Regions from separate parts of the Homo sapiens genome. Here all the other regions are linked to region 3. Evidence: promoter capture Hi-C in human tissues and cell types (Jung and others, 2019). All regions are on one chromosome and are shown on one strand. The core of a region is centred on a gene start or on the middle of the fragment in contact, and the rest is flanking DNA. Distances in the headings are between cores, read along the strand shown. Region 1 holds the start of ISOC2 (isochorismatase domain containing 2). Region 2 has its middle 5.3 kb from the start of ZNF784. Region 3 holds the start of SYT5 (synaptotagmin 5).

What was found. Contacts are between HindIII fragments. The study calls those that stand out against the background at their distance.
Region 1: a contact is called between the fragment with the promoter of ISOC2 here and the fragment with the promoter of SYT5 in region 3, in 1 of the 25 tissues and cell types used here (small bowel).
Region 2: a fragment that was not itself captured here is called in contact with the fragment with the promoter of SYT5 in region 3 in 2 of the 25 tissues and cell types used here (dorsolateral prefrontal cortex and lymphoblastoid cells).

The regions. Positions count from the first base shown.
Region 1 is chr19:55,460,250-55,462,949 of GRCh38, forward strand. It overlaps ISOC2 (isochorismatase domain containing 2), which reads right to left and starts at 1,393. Exons shown (of 6, transcript NM_001136201.2): 1 at 1,263-1,393. The HindIII fragment of the contact is 25,257 bases long and covers 1-2,700 here.
Region 2 is chr19:55,617,941-55,620,640 of GRCh38, forward strand. No RefSeq gene overlaps it. Among named protein-coding and RNA genes, the nearest start is that of ZNF784, 5.3 kb to the right of the region's middle. The HindIII fragment of the contact is 5,055 bases long and covers 1-2,700 here.
Region 3 is chr19:55,178,834-55,181,763 of GRCh38, forward strand. It overlaps SYT5 (synaptotagmin 5), which reads right to left and starts at 1,456. Exons shown (of 9, transcript NM_003180.3): 1 at 1,284-1,456; 2 at 130-253. The coding sequence starts at 208. It overlaps PTPRH (protein tyrosine phosphatase receptor type H), which reads right to left. Exons shown (of 20, transcript NM_002842.5): 20 at 2,414-2,930. The coding sequence ends at 2,921. RefSeq lists an enhancer at 922-1,001 and silencers at 989-1,401, 1,282-1,471. The HindIII fragment of the contact is 16,640 bases long and covers 1-2,930 here.

The DNA of each region.
Region 1 (2,700 bases), core at 143-2,642, 280 kb after region 3:
AAACATGTTTGAGAGAAGTGAAAAAGAAGCAGAACAGTGTGTATGGAATGCTCCTTTTTGTGCCAAAGAAAAAAGGGAGAGGAAAATGTGTCTGTGTTGCCTATATCTATATCTGCTATCTCTGGCAAACAAGCAAGAAACGGGAGACTCAGGCGGGTGAACCAGGCACCGGGGAAGTCTGTAGGAGCCTTTTCACTGGGTCCTATTCTGTTTCTTCTGAATTCTGGACAATGTGCAACAAGTTGTCTAGTCAATACTATATACAATAAAGGGTTGGCATAAAGCCAAAACCCGGCAAAACTGATCTATGGCGTCAGAAGCCAGGACAGTGACTGCCCTTGGACCACAGTGATGGAAACGACGACGGCGGGAGATCCTGGGATGTGGCGCATGTTTGACTTTTTTCTTTGGATACTTGTTTACACCAGGGTGCTCCCTTTATAAATATTTATTTAAGCTGTGTATTTGCAAACCGTTCGATTTTCTGCGTTTGTGGTATTATTCCAGAAAAAGTGTTCAAAATGCAAAATACAAAGATGGCTTCAGGCCCCCGCCGTGCGGTTGAACTGGAGGCAAAAGGCCAGAGAGCAGGAGGTCGGCGCTGGGGCCCAGTGGGACAGGGGAGAGTCAGGAAGGGGCAGCTGGGACGGTGGGGAAAGTCGGGGAGAAAGGCCCCCAGTTTCTGGTCGAGCGAGGGGCATGATCTGAAGATTCATAGGGGATCCCGGGGAGGGGAACTGGTTTTTGGGAGATGAAAAATTGGGGTGAGGGTGGGTGTGTGAGAGAGAGAGATGTGAAGGGGAGGTCTGGGCTGGAGAGGGTTGGGCGTGTCCTGCGGAACGAGGAGAGATTCAGCCTGGGTGGAGGGTACCCAAGGCCAAAGGGGGCGTGGCTGGAGGTGGGCGGCAACAGGGGGCGGGGTAGGGCCGTTGATTTCCCCACCCGGTCTCGGAAACCCGGCCTTGGAGCCCGGACTTCCTGGCTGTGTGACCTTGGGCAAGTTTCTCTTTGTCTTAGCCTCAGTTTTCTCGTCGGAGAAATGGGGATTAAACCTGCCCACCCCCCAGCGCTGTTACAGAGGCGGCAGGCGCGACCCGGGGACGCTTCCAATCTCTGGCCAGCCAATTCTGGCGGGGCCAGGTGGAGTCCTCCTTCTGGTCCTGTGACCTTGGCCCGGGACGCCCAGGCAGAGCCTCAGTTTCCCCATCTGCTAGGCGGTAAGGTCGGTCTCCAAATAGCGCCAGCAGCGAGAGAGGACTTACCCGGAAGGTGCCGGGTTCGAGCCCGGAACGGCCCCTCTGCAGGTGAGGCGGGGGCACCCTCACCTCTCGGCTCTCGGACGGCCACCGCTGAGGCCTCTTGCGGGCTTCCCAGGGCTGGTTACCGTTTCGTTAGGGCTGGACACGTGGCCCACCCCCTGCACCGTCCGTTTTCCGCCCACTTGGGCCCAGCCGTCCAATCGACACTCATCATGCTCTGCCTCGCCGCTCTCTCCGGCCAATCCGCATGTGCCACTGCCTCTGCCCGCAATCGGCGCTCACCAACTCACCCCGCCCCCTGCCTCTCAACCAATCCGCATATGCAGCTGCTTTGCTCCCGCCCCAGGGGGGGCGGTGCCGGCAAGGCTGTCAGTCTCAAGAAAATGATTAGCTCGCAAAGGCGCCGTGGGGGCGGGGCAGCAGGTCGTTCTGCCAATGGAGAGCCGTAGAGGGCGTGAGTGGCGGCCGACGGGGCGGAGTCGCGCGGTGGTCTCCGAAGGCTCAGACTCTGGCTGGAGAGAGGGCGTCTCGGCCGGCCCCATTGCACAGAGCAGACCGCCGAGGCCGGGAGAGAGAGAGAGGGGTCTTACCTAGAGTAGAGGCATGTCTGCGGTTCGAAACCTGGCCCTCTCTCAAGAAACGGAGGCTTACAAAGATACCCAAGCACTTTCCAGGAAGGGGCTGGCTGAGGGAGCGATCAAGTGAGGAATTTGACGCCCCCCTGTCCTTTGCGCTCTGTGCTGCCTCAGTTTCCCCATCTGTACAGCACCTGCCTCCTCGGGTGGTGTTTAGAATAATTTAGACTCTGTGCTTGGAAATGGAGGTTGAGAGAAAGAGAGAATTTCCTATCTGTCTTGGAATAAATCCAAACTCCTCCCAATTCATGGTCGGCCTTCCTGGTCCGTGCAGACCTCGCCTCTCACCACTCCCCCTGCTCACTCCGCTCCAGCCACAGGGGTCTCCTCTTGCTCTTCCCTCAATGTCCCACCGCAGGGCCTTTGCACGTGTGCTGCCTCAGCCTGGAATCCTAGGACTCCCCATGGCCCAACCTTCCAGGCTTTCAAAGCCTTTCCTGACCACCTGGTGTCAGGTAGCCCTTCCATCAGGTCGCTGTTTTTAATTTTTTTGAAACATCAAAAAAAAGAAAAAAATTGCTCTATCACCCAGGCTGGAGTACCATGGTACGATCACAGCTTGCTGCAGCCTCAACCTCCCGGGCTCAAGCGATCCTCCCACCTCAGCCTCCTGAGTAGCTGGGACCACAGGTATGCGCCACCACACCTGACTAATTTTTTAATTTTTTTGTAAAGATGGAGGTCTCACTCTGTTGCCCAGGCTGGTTTTGAACTCCTGGGCTCAAGTGATCCGCCTGCCTTGGCCTCCCAGAGTGCTGCGATTACAGGTGTGAGCCGCCGCACCCGGCCTTGTGTTTTATTTTCTT
Region 2 (2,700 bases), core at 142-2,641, 440 kb after region 3:
TAATCCCAGCACTTTGGGAGGCCGAGGCGGGCAGATCACTTGAGGTCAGGCGTTTGAGACCAGCCTGGCCAAAGTGGTGAAACCCCATCTCTACTAAGAATACAAAACTTAGCTGGACATGGTGGTGGGCATCTGTAATCCCAGCTACTCAGGAGGCTGAGGCAGGAGAATCACTTGAACTCAGGAGGCAGAGATTGCAGTGAGCTGAGATCGCACCACTGCATCCAGCCTGGGTGACAGAGTGAGACTCCATCTCAACAAATAAATAATTTGGACTTCAGTCCCAGAGTACTTCAGTACAGAAACTTGAAGATGAGGCCAGGTGCAGTGGCTCATGCCTGTAATCCCAGTACTTTGGGAGCCCAAGGCGAGCAGATCACCTGAGGTCAGGAGTTCGAGACCAGTCTGGCCAACATGGTGAACCATCCTTTCTACTAAAAGTACAAAAATTAGCTGGGCGTGATGGCAGGTGCCTGTAATCCCAGCTACTCGGGAGGCTGAGGCAGGAGAATCACTTGAACCCAGGAGGTGGAGGTTGCAGTGAGCTGAGATTGCGCCACTGCACTCCGGCCTAGGCGACAAGAGCGAGATTCCATCTCAAAAAAAAAAAAAAAAAAAAAAAAGGAAAAAAAGAAACTTGAAGATGAAACTAGGTAAGAGCGCTGCTTGGGTGAGTCCTGTGTGACCCATGGGAGAGCAGCTACCCTGTGTGGCTCCATGTTCTAATGCTGAAGACCCAGCATGAGACAGACGTTGTGCCAGTGCCCCCAGGGTTCAGGGTTCAGCAGTAACATGGAAATGGAGCCTCACAGTGTAAGGGACTTGGAAGTATCACTAGGGCTTGAGGGAGCACAGAGGAGTCACCTGTCAGAGTGGAAGGGGGGCTAGAAAAGCTTCTTGGGGAGAAGGTGATCCCTGAACGATGACATAAACCAACTGGAGTTTTCCAGGTAAAGAAGTGGCAAAGAGGCCGGGCACGGTGGCTCATGCCTGTAATCCTAGCACTTTGGGAGGCCGAGGCAGGTGGATCACGAGGTCAGGAGCTCCAGACCATCCTGGCTAACACGGTGAAACCCTGTCTCTACTAAAAATACAAAAAATCAGCCGGGTGTGGTGGTGGGAGCAGGTGGCAGGCGCCTGTAGTCCCAGCTACACGGGAGGCTGAGGCAGGAGAATGGCATGAACCCAGAAGGCGGAGCTTGCAGTGAGCCGAGATCATGCCACTGCACTCCATCCTGGGCGACAGAGCAAGGCTCTGTCTCAAAAAAATAAATAAATAAGAAAAAAAAAAAAAAAAAGAAGTGGCAAAGATTTCCAGGCGGAGAGTTTAGTGTGTTGAACTAAACCCTGCTATTCTGGAGCATTTAAGACAGATTAGTATGGCTGGAGGTTGGGTTCCTGGGGGCTAAACCCTGAAGGGTCTTGAATTCCAAACTGTGGGGCTTGGGTGATTTTATAGGCTAGAGGCTGGAAACTGGCAGCTGCAAGGCCGAATATGACCACTAACACATTTTTGTTTAGTCTGTGCATTTTTTAAAAAGTTTGACTTGACTGCCAACATTGGGAAATCAAAAGATTTTACATAATGTGAACTAATGGAACTTCTGAAAGAAACTGGAAGATGTGGCAACCCAATCTGTGTTCCGGAGCTGAGCAGCCATTACCCTCTTCTGAAGAGGCACTCTCCAATTTGTTGAATACCAATTCTGAGACCTGGTGGCAATCGCCATTATTTCATGTTGCTGATATTTTCCCCTTGAACCTGGCCGTCTTGCTCGTGTATTTACATTTTCACCCAGCTCCTGTAGGCATTCACATTTCCAAATCGTCTCAAAGCCACAAGGAGCTGTGTCTTGGTGACAAGGATCTGCATGGATGCCATATGGAGAATGAAGAGGGCAGGTGGCCGGGTGCAGTGGCTCACGCCTGTAATCCCAACACTTTGGGAGGCCGAGGCGAGTAGATCACCTGAGGTAAGGAATTTGAGACCAGCCTGGCCAACATGATGAAACCCCATCTCTACTAAAAATACAAAAATGAACTGAGCGTGATGGCGCCCACCTGTAATCCTAGCTACTCAGGAGGCTGAGGCAGAAGTGCTTGAATCCAGGAGGCAGAGGTTGCAGTGAGCAGAGATTGTGCCATTGGACTCCAGCCTGGGCAACAAGAGCAAAACTCCATCTCAAAAAAAAAAAAAAAAAAAAAAAAAAAAAAAAAAAAAAAAAAAAATGCAGGCACTGGACTGCTGTGCAGTTGTCTGTGTGTGAGACCACTGTTGGTCTACAAGTGTAGTGATGCCGAAAACACGTTCCAGTTCCAAAGATATTAACTGGCTCAACTGAGGGAAACTGATAAGGGACTGGACATAAGAATGAGGATGAAGAAGGTTTAAACCTGCCCAGGTATCCAGCTTGGGTGGTGGTGCCAATGACATCAGAAGCATGGAGGTTTCTTTGAGGAAAATGGAATGAGTTCTGTTCACATTGTGAGTTGCCTGTGAGTTATCTCATGGGGCCCACTGGGTGAACAGAAAGGTGTGCAAATCAGAGGCTCTCACTCAACAAGCATGCAAAGCATGTTGAGTGTGCTTTTGCCAAACTTCCCTGACCCCCCTCTCCTACAGCTGAACCACATAACACGTAACCACAGTGGGGCCTACTCACCCCCCATTCTGATGATGGGGAAACAGAAGCTTGGAGG
Region 3 (2,930 bases), core at 206-2,705:
GATGACGACCCGGGATCCCAGCCGGATTTTCCAGCCCGCCTGCCCGAGTACACCCGTCCGAATCCCGCCCCTCGGAATCCTGGCCAGGCTTTCTCTCTGCTCGGCCCCCCACCCCCGGGTCTTGCTCACCTGGGCCGTGGCTGATGCGACTGGAGTCGGGAGGCGTGTCGGGCGATGGAGGCCCCGGGGTTGGGGGCTCCGGGAACATGGTGGCGGGGTCCTGGAGTCTTTTCTGCAGAGACACTCAAGCACCCTAGTCCCCCATTCCCACCCCAGACGTCCTTTGAGCCCCACGCACAACAAAGAACTCCAACTCCCATGAGGCCTTTGCGCGAACAGCCGCGCAGAAACCGGACAGCCACCGCGAGTCATGCTGGGAGTTGTAGTATCAGCCTCCCCGCACTTGAGAGGGGGTGTCCAGGACCTAGTTCCATCCTAAAGGGATACCCTCTTCCTCCACGGCCCCACAGGCATCCCGCTGACTTCTGCCTCGTCCTCGCCCCTCCGCAGGGTCTGAACCGGAAGCGGGCGAAGGCAGACGTGGGAACCAGCAGACCGCGTTGCCCAGAGCAACAGCCGGGCTCCTCTCAAGCGGGGTGAGAGCAAAGCTGGTTGCCCGGGCAACGGGTTGTTGCCAGGACAACGGGCGGGGCTGACGCACAGACGCGGAGTCCCGGCGGGGCAGGCTCGCTCCGGGGCCCACCGGTGCCTGGGAACCCCCCAATAGCCCGACTGGGATCCTGAGGTCCCGCGAGGTGGGGAGCGGGCAGCCTGTGGTCCGAGCGCCCACAGCCGACTGCTCCCTCCGCACCTGGTCCTGGGAGCTGAGACGCAGGTTCCCTCTTCCCTCTCCCCAATTTTGCTGGAGGGCGGGTCGGGGGCTGCCCGGTGCCTGTGCTGAGCCCCCTCATCCTTCTTGGCCTGTTGGTCTCTCCACGCATCCGTGCTGCTCTCGTGACCGCCTCGGTCTCCACGCTGCCTCTTGACCCCACATAGGCGTCTTCCCTGTGTCTGCCTCCCCAACCCGCCTGTCTCTCTTCCCTATCGCCTGGCCTCTGTCTCCAGGGTCTCTCCCTCTCCCCTCCGCCTGCGCCCCACTCCCCGCCCTCGGCTCTTTGTCTTCTCCATACCTGTCTCGCGTCCCCAGATCCCTGTCTCTCCGCTTCAGGCTGCTGCCCTCCCTCTGGTTGTCTCCCCAGTGCCCCAGCCCCCACTCGCACACCCCTTTCCTCTAGGGATGCGGATGCGGATGGGCTGAGGGCGGGGGTCCCAGCAGCTCCTACCTGCTCGGCGGCTGGACGGGACACTCCCGGGAGACGCCGAGGCGCCAGCCCCGCCCGGACCCCACCCCCTGCACGTGGGCGGTGGCGCTGTCCCGGGTGCTGATCGCGGAGCTCTCCGGGGCGGGGGAGCCGCGGAGCGGAGCAGGATCCCGTGCGCGCGTGTGTGCCCGTGTGCGTGTGCGCGCGTGTGTGGTGTGTATTGTGTGTGCCCGTATTTGGTCTCGGGTAGGCGGAAAGCCCTGCCCCGCCCCTCCTCCCGCCTCCACCCGGGAACCTCGATGACGCCCACAGATGTTTATCCTGGTGCTTTAGCATTTTCTGCCTTCTGGTCCAGTCGTTGGCCGTCCAGACCACTCCACTCCTCCCGCCCCAACACACACGACACACACCCTGTATAGCCCAAAGAACGGCATGCCAGGATACTCAGTCCTAGGACCTAGGAGACCCCAGACCCCCATTGGAGACCCAGACTCTGCAGGGTTCAGCATCAAAGTCCCCAGCTATCAGCCCCCAGACATCGCCCTCTAAGTTCCCCTAACACCAGTCCCAGGAGGCGGCCAGTGCGGTGGCTCATACCTGTAACCTCAGCACTTTGGGAGGCCGAAGCAGGAGGAATGCTTGAGCCCAGGAGCTGGAGACCAGCCTGGGCAACATAGCAAAATCCCGTCTCTACAAAAATGAGCCAGCGTGGTGGTGCGCACTTGTGATGGCAGCTACTCTAGAGGCTGAGGTGGGAAGATCACCTGGGCCCAGGAGGTCAAGGCTGCAGTGAGCCACTGCACTCCAGTCTGGGCAACAGAGCAAGACCATGTCTCAAAAACAAAAACAAAAACAGAACAAAACAACAACAACAACAACAGAGAAGAGTAAAAGAAAAGCTCAGAAGGCAAGTCCCCAAGCACCTAGCTCCAGCGAGCCCTGTCCATACTGCCCAGACCCTGGACACAGACGTCTGGACACTGCCTTCTCTGAGAGACTCAACCACCCAAACCTACATTTTTTCATGTGCAAATGTGTGGGTCCCTCTAGTCCCCTCCTGGACGTTCGCCTCGATCCCTAGATACCAGGAACCCATCCCTACTCCCAATCCAATATTATTTCCAGACCCAGAAATCCATGGGACAACTGTCTCTGGGGAGAACAGTGATTTAATAAATTATGGGATAGAAGGAAAAATACATGTGGATGGTGGGGTGCAGAGAGACCTTGGGCACAGGGACTCCCTCCGACCCCAGATTATAGAAGACTGATTTGGTTTCTGAAGTAAAATCAAGGCAGGATCCTTCCTGCCTTTGGTCCTCAAGTAGCCAGAACTCCAGACCCAAATTCCTTCCTGCCTCAGAATCCAGGCCCCAGCCTGTTTCTTTCTGCATCCTGGAAAGACCTAGGGAATCCAAGCTATCATCCCTCTCCTCCTTCAGGGAACCAGGAATCCAGATCCCCAGCTCCCATAGGACTCATCTGAAGCCCACCAGACCACTCTCTCCTGGGGAAACCAGAGTTTGGGATACCAGCCCCCTCCTCCCACAGCACCCAGGAGTCTGGGAGCCCAGCCCTCTGCTCTTCCAGGAATCTGGGCTCAAGTGGGTGTCCAGAGCTTGAGGATGCCTGGGCTGCCGACCCAGCCCCCTCGTCACTTAGACCTCC